Regions from separate parts of the Homo sapiens genome. Here region 2 is linked to region 1. Evidence: promoter capture Hi-C in human tissues and cell types (Jung and others, 2019). All regions are on one chromosome and are shown on one strand. Each heading gives the region's core, a stretch centred on a gene start or on the middle of the fragment in contact. The rest is flanking DNA. Distances are from core to core; before and after follow the strand shown.

Region 1 (5,243 bases), core at 1,693-4,192:
CCACCCTCTACAGTACGTGCCCCGTGGACGCCGCCCACACGCAGGCCTGACCAGAGGGGGCTCCCCAAGACCCAGGGCAGGGCACACAGCATCCCCCCCGCTGAGGCCAGCTCCGTCTCCACCCTGTCCCAGGCCGAACCCAGACCCCCAGGGCTGAGTTAAAGGAGAAATTCACCGCCTTCTGCAAGGCCCAGGGCTTCACAGAGGATACCATTGTCTTCCTGCCCCAAACCGGTGAGGGGTCCTAATCTGATGGGGAGAGGATCAAGGTCAGATTAGAGGCAGGCAGGCAGTCTCCTGACTGGGGGAGGCAGAGGGGAGGAGGTGGCCCCGCCCTGCTCGAGGCCTGGGCCAGGGACAGAGGGGGTGAGTGTTCAAGTCAGAACCTCCCTCCCGCAGCCCCTTCATGAGGAGCCCCCTCCATGGGGGACATGGAGACCAGGCGCCCACTCTGTGCCAGGCCCCAGCAGCTCCCAGGATGTGGGGCTTCAGCCTGGTGGGGGGCATAGGGTAGAGGGTGCCCATGGGGGATACAGGGGAACCAACCATACTGGGCTCAGGCACAGCCTCCTAGGGGTGGACAGCCTGCTCTTGGCAGAGGTGGAGAAAGACCCTCTCTTTGTTTCCAGTGCCCAGGGAGAGGTGGGAGGTGATGGGGGATCTGTGCAGTTTGGGGGCTCAGTCAAGACGAGCTCTGCGTTACGGGAGGAACAGGAAGCCCAGTGGGAAAATTGGCCTAAGTCTGGGGTTCTGACGACAGCCCCTGGCTTCTTTCTTGGCAGATAAGTGCATGACGGAACAATAGGTGAGCCACTCCATTCATTCATTCATTCATTCATTCATTCATTCATTCAACACACATCCACCCAACCCACTCTGCGATGGGATGGATCAGGGCCCCAGGACAGCCTGGTGCTGCAGACCCATCCTTCCCGATGGCTGCAGTCCAGGGCCGGGCGGGAGACACTGGGGCTGCCCACATTGATGGGTGCACAGGTGTGAGGCTCAGAAGGAAAACCTGTCCCAGTGGCTGGAACAGGGCTGACTCCTGAAGGCTCATGGTTGGGGGGTGCAGGTGCGAGGCCCCAGGCAGACAAGGCCAAGGGGCTATACCACAGGGACCACCTGGCAGCAAGGGTGTCTGGCTCCTGGGCTAGGAGGAAACCAGGGTGGGGGAGACAGGATGGGAGGGAACAGGGGATGGAAGGGGAGGGCCAAGGACGCTACATGGATGCCGTGGGACAGCTCGGAGAGCAGGCTCAGGGCGGATTCACCCACCACCCCCAGGAGGGAGGCCTAGGCTGGAGCTGGAGTCTGTGGACCCTGGGGCTGGGAAGGGTGGAGTCTGTAGACCCTGGGGCAGCGGGGATCCAAGCCCCAGGGATGGATCTTGCTCTCTCAGCGGGGCTCAGTGGGGCTGGGGGCAGAGAAAAGTCCCCGTAGCCCGCACCTGCTCCATCGACTGGAGTGGAGGTGGGCTGGGGTAGACTGCAGTCCTCCATCCTAGCCTTTCGGTCACACCCCTCAGGACTCCCCAGGGCTGAAGCTGGGATCCCGGCCAGCCAGGTGACCCCCACGCTCTGGATGTCTCTGCTCTGTTCCTTCCCCGAGCCCCTGCCCCGGCTCCCCGCCAAAGCAACCCTGCCCACTCAGGCTTCATCCTGCACAATAAACTCCGGAAGCAAGTCAGTAGAGCTGGCTCCTGGCTGTCTGCGCTGTCATCACCCGTCCTGGGCCTGGCCCTGGCCACCCGGACCTCCCCCTCTAAAATCTCAGCCTGACGTCAACAAAGGAACAGGCCCTCTAGTGTTTGCTCCCAGTGGGGTCTTGAGTCAGGACAGCTAGGAGGGGGTGTCCCTCACTGTCTCCCACCCACCCCACACAGTCGTGTGCCCCTGCCCCACAGCCCCACACGTCGAGCCATACCCCCTCAGCTGCCACTGCCACCAGGCCGGTGCTGAGCTGGGGGTCAGTGACTCAGCTAATCCCTTAGGCAGGTGCCCTGCACCCCCAACGCCACCCTGTCACCCCCTCAGCAGTAAAGGCCTGAGGCTCGAGGCCCCAGAGGAGCTTTGGACCTGTTGGGTATCTTGAGGTGTGGGATTAACGCACTGAGATTGGGCAGAGATAAGGGTTTCAGGGGACAAAAAGAAACATTTGTTTGAAACATGCCAGAGTGTCTCCACCCCGCATCAGGACAGACTGACAGAGTGGGCTGGGGACAGGCTACCCCATATCCCTTCTGGCTCCCTGTGCGCCCCCTGCCCTCTGACCTGGGCCTCCAGATCACAGCCTTGTCCACTCACCAGAGCCCTGGCACCACGGCCACACCATGCCCGGCCAGTGCCCTGCCCAACCCTGCTCCCTTCCAGATTCCCACCCAGGCAGCCATTCTCAGGTACACAATGTGCAGGACTCACTGTGACCTGCCCACCAGGCCCCCCCGAGGCAGACCCTGCAGAGGCACCAAGCATTTTGAGGCTCGGAGGTGAGGGTGAGCTTCTGGGTGGCCTTCCCGGAGAAGGGGGCTTAGGGCTGTGCCTGAGCTCAAGGTAGGGGGGATTCCAACATCCCAGAGGGGCTGCAGAAGGCCGAAGAGGCAGGATGGGTGAGCTGCAGGCCCCCTAGCCCAGAGGCCCGTCAGAACTACCCTCAGCTGCCAGGCATCCGGCCCCACCCCGGAGGAAAGGCAACGGATGGCTGGGGTTGGGTGGAGGGAGCCAGGCCAGAGCGCTGCAGGGTGCAACTTGATCAGAAGCCTGTCACAGTGGGTGCAGTCCCAGGCCAGCCGCCCCAGGGCACCTCAGGGGCGTAAAGCCTACAGAGGAGCCACCTCAGCTCTGCCCTGCTCCCGTGTCCGGAGGAGATGCCATCTTGCTGCATGATGCTTCGGGCTCTGCTGATCAGTTCCCTCCTTGCCCTGCTCTGGGCATCCCCAGGCCAGGCCCAGGTCCCCATCCAGGCCAACTTTGATGCCAGCCAGGTGTGCCCAGCCCTGTTTCCTCCTCATCTCCAATGAGTCCTCCCGGCTTTGGTGCTGCACCCCGGGTCCCTGTCCACACCCTCTTTGATCCAGGCTCAGCAGGGCTAGGGGCAGGGGAAACCCCCACCTCACCCGCTCCGTCTGACTGGAGTAGGGGTTGGCTGGGGAAGACTGCAGCCTCCATCCTACCTTTTCAGTTGCATCCCCCAACAATCCCCAGGGCCCAAAATAGGGACAAGTTGGTTGCCTGTGCCTCACTGTCCCCCACCCACCCCACAAAGACCTGTGACCTTGCCACAGCCCCACCCATCCAGCCGTACCCCCTGGGTGCCAGCTGCAGACAGGCCGGTGCTGGGCTGGTGGGGGCCAGTTGCTCATGTACTGAGGCCCCCCTCCCTCAGTTCTGCATCGGGGTCGAGATGTGTACAGCAGCCCCTGCCGTGGCCAGGAAGCAGCTGTGTCGGGGCAGAATGTGGTGGGCTCAGGCCCAGGGCACAGGGGCGGCCTCCCAGCCTTCCCTGCACTTGCCCTGCAGTTCCAGGGCACCTGGTACATGGTCGGGGTGGTGTCAGATGACCAGGACTTCCTGGACTCCAAGGACACCATGAAGATGGCTGTGGTCTTAGTGACCCCCTTGGGGAATGGTGACCTGGCCCTCAAGTTTGGATACCCCACGTAAGTGACCACACGAGCCCATCAGACTCAGCCTCAGAGGATGGCCAGCATGAGGCCACATGAAGGTCCAGAGGGACCATGGTGTCCCCAGCACATTGAGGTCAGACCACGGGTCCTCGACGGCTCTGTGCGGCAGAGCCCCAGATGGCAGCCACACGGAGTCCAGAGGGACCCAGGCCCTGGAGGAAGCACTGCCTGAGGCCTGGTGTTGAGAAAAGTGTCTGCATGTCTGTGTCTGTGTGTGTATCACTGTATGTGGCTGTGTCTCTGTGTATGTGTGTCTATTTCTGCATGTGTGTGTGTCTGTGTGTGCGTGTGTATGCATGTGTGTCTTTGTAGATGTGTACCTCTGAGTGTGTATGTGTGTATCACTGTATGCGTCTGTGTGTCTGTGTGTCTGTGTATCTGTGTCTGGCTGTGTGTGTCTATCTCTGTGTGTGTCTTGTGTGCGTGTCTATGTGTGTGTCTGTCAGTGTGTCTGTGTCTGTGTCTATCTCCGTGTGTGTGCATGTGTGTATGTGTGTGTCTTCTGTGTGTCTGTGTCTGGAAGGGGGACCTGGAGGCCCTGCATTCTAGGCTGTGTGCCTGTGAACAGGTACTTAATACCCACCCCACCCCCAGCAGGAGTGTCCCCACCTCTAAGGTCATCCTAAAGTCCCATGTCCTCTAAGGATTGTGAGGGTGAACAGGGGACCCTGGGCTCAGAGACAGCAAGGTAGGCTCTAGGCCTGGGCGCTGGGCAGGGGTGGCCACTCAGGGGATTGGGGCTCTTTCTCCCCAGGCCCCATGGCGGGTGCCAGAAAATGGACACGACCTTCACCGAGGGTGCTGTACCGGGGCAGTTCAGCAACCCAGGTGAGGTGGGGCAGCAGGCAGGGCTGTGGCGTGGGGGCCCTGGAGGCTGCATGGACTGCTGGATTGGCACCTGGGGCCGGGGCGTGAGGGGTGCCACGCTCGGGGGGGAGGTGCCCTGGGCCTGGGGTCAGCGGCTCTCGCTCCTCCAGCCATGGCCCTGAGTGACATCCGAGTGGCCTTCTCCGACTACCAGCACTTTGCCTTGCTGTACTTGGAGATGCGGAAAGGGGGCCTGCGGAACCAGTGGCTGCAGCTCTACGGTGGGCGGGCTGCGGGGCGGAGACCCAGACACCCCCGCTTCGGGTCTGGGATGTCACCCCTGTGCCTGCACCAGCCCTTTCTGCACGCGGAAGGTGGAACCGCTGGCTCCTGGTGTCTGTGGCCGCGGGTCCCGGCCCCTCCCTGCCCCTCTCTCCCTCTCTTCGCCCCTCCAGCCCCTTCCCTTTAGCTTACCCGCCCTCCCCACCTTCAGCTCGAGCGCCCGAGCTGTTTCCCGAAGGCGCCCAGAAGATGCAGCTACTGGCGCCCCAAGTGGGCCTGAGCCCCAGCCAGGGCGTCCTGCTGCCGAAGTCGGGTGAGCGGTGCCGGCAGCCCTGCTGGGAGGGCCAGGCCCCGGGTCACACCCCTGCTGGAAGGGCCAGGCCCTGGTCACTCCACTGATCTCAGATTCGGGACAGAAGTGCCCGGGGCAGACCCAGCCTGTCTGGGTCGGGGGAGGGCGAGACGTTGC
Region 2 (5,943 bases), core at 2,473-4,972, 55 kb before region 1:
GGAGCCCTCTTCGTCGGAGGTGTCATTTATTTATTTACTTATTGTTAAGACGGAGTCTTGCTCTGTCGCCCAGGCTGGAGTGCAGTGGCATGATCTCGGCTCACTGCAACCTCCCCTCCTGGGTTCAAGCGATTCTCCTGCCTCAGCCTCCTGAGTAGCTGGGACTACAGGCATGCACCACCACGCCCAGCTAATTTTTGTATTTTTAGTAGAGATGGGGTTTCTCCATGTTGGCCAGGCTGGTCTTGATCTCCTGACCTTGTGATCCGCCCACCTTGGCCTCCCAAAGTGCTGGGATTGTAGGCGTGAGCCACTGTGCCTGGCCTATTTTGAAAATCAGAATCTATTATTTTGTGGAATTGAAGATGCAGAGACTAGACTGGAATGAGAGAAGGTCCCTTCCTTTTGCCACAGTTGGCCCAGACTTGCTACTTCCCCCACCCCCTATAGCTAGTGGAGTAGGCAGAGCAGAGTTGGGTGGGGGAGGGGGTGTGGAGGGCCCACAGGCCCTTGTCTGTCCTGGGGCATCCAGGTTCACAGTCCTGACAGAGGCAGACTCAGGTTCTCCCTGAAAAGTGCTCTTCACGAGTGGGCAGTGGGTGCTTCATGATCTCTTTGGCAAGAAAATGTCTTTGCCAGATGTGTTATTTTTTGCATTTTCCTAATAATAATTCAAGTTCAGGAGTGGTAAGCTTTAGTCTAGGACTCCAGATGTCAGTGGACAGGAAAGGCCAGAATGGACACAGATTCCCCAGAGAGAAGCGGAATGCCGGTGGCTGGGGAGGGCTGGGGAGCCCGGGCGCTGTGGCAGGAGCAAGGCCGCCCACCACGTGGTCTCGGCTGGGCCTCAGCCTCTGGCCTGGGTCCTGGGATGGCCTCCTGCTGGTGGCCCTGCCAGTGTCCAGACCCTCGGGAGCCAGAGAGAGACGGCCCACAGACCTGTGTCCCCTCCCTGGGGCTCTCTCCTCCAGGTGACCTTAATGCTGCTCGACCAGAATAACCGGGAGCACGTGATTGACGCCTTCAGGCCCGACGTGACTTCATCCTCTTTTCAGAGGCCAGTCAACGACATGAACATCGCAAGCGGCTGCCCCCTCTTCTGCCCCGTCTCCAAGATGGAGGCAAAGAATTCCTACGTGCGGGACGATGCCATCTTCATCAAGGCCATTGTGGACCTGACAGGGCTCTAACTGCCCCCTACTGGTGTCTGGGGGTTGGGGGCAGCCAGGCACAGCCGGCTCACGGAGGGGCCACCACGCTGGGCCAGGGTCTCACTGTACAAGTGGGCAGGGGCCGCGCTTGGGCGCTTGGGAGGGTGTCGGCCTGCAGCCAAGTTCACTGTCACGGGGGAAGGAGCCACCAGCCAGTCCTCAGATTTCAGAGACTGCGGAGGGGCTTGGCAGACGGTCTTAGCCAAGGGCTGTGGTGGCATTGGCCGAGGGTCTTCGGGTGCTTCCCAGCACAAGCTGCCCTTGCTGTCCTGTGCAGTGAAGGGAGAGGCCCTGGGTGGGGGACACTCAGAGTGGGAGCACATCCCAGCAGTGCCCATGTAGCAGGAGCACAGTGGATGGCCTTGTGTCCCTCGGGCATGACAGGCAGAAACGAGGGCTGCTCCAGGAGAAGGGCCTCCTGCTGGCCAGAGCAAGGAAGGCTGAGCAGCTTGGTTCTCCCCTCTGGCCCCTGGAGAGAAGGGAGCATTCCTAGACCCCTGGGTGCTTGTCTGCACAGAGCTCTGGTCTGTGCCACCTTGGCCAGGCTGGCTGTGGGAGAGGGTCTGGTCCCACGCCGCCTCTGCTCAGACCACTGTGTGGGAGGTGCACAGCACAGCCTGCGGGTAAAGTGTGAGAGCTTGCCATCCAGCTCACGAAGACAGAGTTATTAAACCATTCAAATCTCTGTGGTCAGTGGCATCCATTTGATTCCAGGTTGCCTGCGGCTTCCAGCCTTGGCAGTGGTGACCCTCTGCGGGTCCTCCTGGCCTCTCCTCTCACAGACCCCTCCCCACGGGGTGCCTAGCCCCTGCCTGCTTCTCTAGCTAGCCAGGCTGTGTTCTCTGTTCCTCACCTGATGTAAGCTCCCTCTTCTCGAGCCTTGTTCCCTCTTCTGGAATGTTCTTCCCTGTCCATCTCCTCTCCTGGGCCTCCCCAGGGACTCCTGTGAGAGCAGAATGAGGATGAGCCAGCCCTGGTCCTGCCTTTCTGTGCACAGGCTCCACCGAGCATCCTGGCTGCACCCGGGGGGTCCTGGCCACACCGAGGGTCCTGGCTGCACCGCCCCTGTGGTGTGTTTTTGGGACAGTGCAGGCAGGCGTAGGCACGGCTTCACACTCGGTGTCAGGGCAGCCGTGCTGGGACCTACTGGGCATCTGTATCGGGGTCCAGGATAAAGTGCTGTCCCCTCTCGACGTCTTCACGCACTGCTGTAGTTTGAGAAGTTGACCACAGAAAAGTACAGAAAATAACTCAGGCACGGAGCTGACCGACGGGCATTGTCTGTGTTCCGTGAGTGTGTACTGGGCCTAAAGAGCAAGCATTGCAGAGCCCTGCTGTTCCCTTTCCCGGCCTCACCTCAGCTCCCCAGGCCACGTGGCGGGAATTGAGGCGTTCCGGTTCTCTTTGGGCTTTAGAATTTTGCATCTGTACGTTTCTGTATTCACAAATAAGAATATTGCATTAAAAATGCAGAAACCATCCACTGGGTCAGCTGCAGGTAGCTGGGCTTTTGACTCAGCCTGGCTACTTTTAATGCATCTTGTGCTGGGCACTCTACATGGTGGATTCTGACTGCCGTGTGTGAGTTCCCTAGAGAGCACCTTCCAGTCTCTTCCCGTGTCTTCAGGGTTTGGTGACTGGAGATAGCCAGACCTGCTCTCGTGGGTCTCCTGTCAACCTGGAAGGAGGGTTGGTGGTTTCTAGGCCTCCCCTTTTTAGCAGTTGCCAGCTTGCTTTGCAGAGGGGCTGCATCCGGTCCTTCCACCAGCACCAGGGGGAGGGTTCCCATCACTCCCATCCCTCCCATCCCTGCCCGTGCTTCGTGTTGTTGGAATTGAGATGCTGCAGCGTGCTGTGTGTGAAGTGAAGTGGCATCGCTGTCACGTGCGTTTCTCTGATGACTCGGCGGAGTCAGGCGTCTTTACCACGCTTACCTCTCCCTTGGATTCTCTCCCGTGCGAATTGCCTGTTGATGTCTTTTTCTCATTTTTCTTCTGGTTGTTGGTCTGGGTCTTATTCTGCTGGTTGGTAGGAGTTCCTGATATTCCTGATTACGGATTCTCGGTTGTGTCTTTGAACTGCGTTTCTGTTGCTCCTGATGTGCAGAAGCTTAAGCCTTACACATGATCAGCTGATCTTATCCTTTATGAATGGTGCTATTTCCGACCGACTCAGAACATCCTGACCTTCCCTGAGGCTGGAAACCACTGTCATGTTTTCGTCTAATGATTGTGAAGTTTTGTCTTTAACATACTGGGCTTCTATATTTGGGGATTTGTTTGTATGTGACAGGTTTTGCTGGGTCACTGCAGTTTGTTAAAACAGATTGATTGAGGTCATCTCTTCTCACTTAAAACGAAATGGAACTGTGAAATGAGAGGAATGGACCAAAAAAAAATCCTCCCCCAGGGACAAAGATGGGGAAGAAGCCAACATCCCACAAAGGATTTGAACCCATTTTGGAAGGTGGGAAGTGGGTTGGTGGGTGGCTGCTGAGCAGAAGAGGGCTGAGGGGGAAGCTGGCCACACCGGGAGGCCCTGGCATGGAGCAGAGTCTAAAAGTGGATCAACTGAAAGACGGGGCAGAGCAGCTACCTTGGAGGTCCTTTGCCAGAGCAGCCGGATGGTCCTCCTGGCCCTCACCTCCCTGCAGTGGAGATGGAGGTCTGGAGAACCTGGGGAAGAGCTGAGGACCGCACCCCCCACGCAGTGAGAGCAGCATCGGGCTCCAGGCTGCAGAAGGGGCAGAGGTCTGCACTCGGAACAATTCCCTAGGCACTGGCTGCCACACCAAGAGGCTCCCACGAAGCAGACCAAGGCCCTTGAGGGACAAAATGCTCTGGAGCAGCCCCGTGGGCAGGCCTGGCCCAGCCGCCTCATGGCCTTCTGGGGAAGTGACAGGCTCTGTGCAAACCCACAGAGGTACCATCGTCACTACCTAATTTTGGGACATTTCATCACCCTGCAGAGAAACCTTCCCTTAGCAGTCACTGTTCCCTCCCGCTCAGCCCCTGACAGCCAGCCATAAACCTACCTTCTGTCTCTATAGATTTGCCTACTCAGGACATTCATGTGAATGTGGCCTTTGCTTTTACTCAGCAAGATATTTTCATGGTTCCTGTGTGTTGCAGCATGCATTGGAGTTTCATTCCTTCTAATGGCTGAATAATCTCTTGTATGGATGCACCACACCTTATTTATCCATTCATCCGTTGCTGGACATTTGGGTGGTTTCTACTTTTTGGCTACTCTGAAAATGCTGCTGTGAACATTTGTGAACAAGTTTTTATGGGGACGTGTATTTGTTTTCATTTCTCTTGAATATTTATACCGAGGAGTAGAGCTGCTGGGCCGCTTGTTCAGCTCTTGGAGGAATTGCCGAACTTTTGTGTCACCTTACATCTCCCTCAGGAAGTGTTTTTTTTTTTTTTTTTTTTTTTTGAGACGGAATCTCGTTCTGTCTTCCTGGCTGGAATACAATGGCACAATCTCGGCTCACTGCAGCCTCCGCCTCCCAGGTTCAAGCAATTCTCCTGCCTCAGCTTCCTGAGTAGCTGGGATTACAGCTGTGAGCCACCACGCCTGGCTAATTTTTGTATTTTTAGTAGAGACAGGGCTTTACCATGTTGGCCAGGCTGGTCTCGAACTGCTGACCTCAGGTGATCTGCCCACCTCAGCCTCCCAAAGTGCTGGGATTGCAGGTGTTGCACCTGGCCCCTAATAACATTTTTAAATTTCACGTAGTAAAATTGATTTGTTCTTTTGTTTTGTTCATGGAACATTCAATTCCATGGATGTTCACACCTGTGCAGATGTGGGTAAGCACCATACCTGGGAGACAGGCGAGCCCTGCCATCTCAGAAGACTGTTCCACTTTCCCCATAGTCACCACCCCGACCCGTGGCAGCCACACACCTGTCCTCCACCACTGTAGTTATGTCTTTCCAAGAAGGTCCCATAATGGAGTCCTACAATGCGTGGCTGGGAGCAGCGAGATCTGCAGAACGCCGCTGAGACTGATCAGGATGCGTGCATCAGCATTTGTTTTCTCTCTTTTTTTTTTGTTTTTTTTGGAGTAGTGCTCTATGGATGGATCAGTTTGTCTCGTCACCTGTTGAAGGGTGTTTGGGTTGTTTCTAATGTTTTGCAGGTCTGAATAGAGCTGCTATAAACATTTGTGTACAGGTTGTTGAGCAAGTTTTTATTTCATTAAGGTAGTTAGCAGTGGGGCTGCTGGATCACACAGTAAGTGTATTTTTAAATTCAAAAGAAACTGCCAAGCACTTTCCAGAATAGCTGTAGCCTGTTGTGGAATGCCAGCATGAGCCACAGTTCCCGCTGCTCCACATCCTTGTGGGCACTTTGTGTTGTCAGCATTCTTTTTTAATTTCTTTTTAAGATATAGGGTCTTGCTCTGTCACCCAGGCTGGAGCGCAATGGCGCAGTCCTACCTCACTGCAGCCTCAAACCCCTGAGCTCCAGTGATCCTCCCACCTAGGCCTCCCAAGTAGCTGCGACTACAGGTTCACACCATCGTGCTCAGCTTATTTTCTTTAATTTTTGTAGAGACAGAATATCACTATGTTGCCCAGGGTGGTCTCAGACTCCTGGTCTCACACTGTCCTGTCTTGGACTCCCAAAGTGCTGGGATTATAGGCATGTGTCACTGTACCTGGCCAAACTTTATTCTTGTTTCTCTTTTTCTTTTTTTCCTTTTTCCTCCCTCCCTCCT

What was found. Contacts are between HindIII fragments. The study calls those that stand out against the background at their distance.
Region 2: a fragment that was not itself captured here is called in contact with the fragment with the promoter of LCNL1 in region 1 in 4 of the 25 tissues and cell types used here (dorsolateral prefrontal cortex, lymphoblastoid cells, mesenchymal stem cells and 1 more).

The regions. Positions count from the first base shown.
Region 1 is chr9:136,980,051-136,985,293 of GRCh38, forward strand. LCNL1 (lipocalin like 1) reads left to right here and starts at 2,943. Exons shown (of 3, transcript NM_207510.4): 1 at 2,943-3,658; 2 at 4,440-4,513; 3 at 4,663-5,243. The coding sequence starts at 3,537. The coding sequence ends at 4,961. PTGDS (prostaglandin D2 synthase) reads left to right here. Exons shown (of 7, transcript NM_000954.6): 4 at 1-12; 5 at 133-234; 6 at 783-805; 7 at 1,529-1,692. The coding sequence ends at 805. RefSeq lists enhancers at 4,281-4,838, 4,839-5,243. The HindIII fragment of the contact is 9,863 bases long and covers 949-5,243 here.
Region 2 is chr9:136,924,712-136,930,654 of GRCh38, forward strand. TRAF2 (TNF receptor associated factor 2) reads left to right here. Exons shown (of 11, transcript NM_021138.4): 11 at 972-1,896. The coding sequence ends at 1,190. Among named protein-coding and RNA genes, the nearest start is that of FBXW5, 17 kb to the right of the region's middle. The HindIII fragment of the contact is 3,433 bases long and covers 2,007-5,439 here.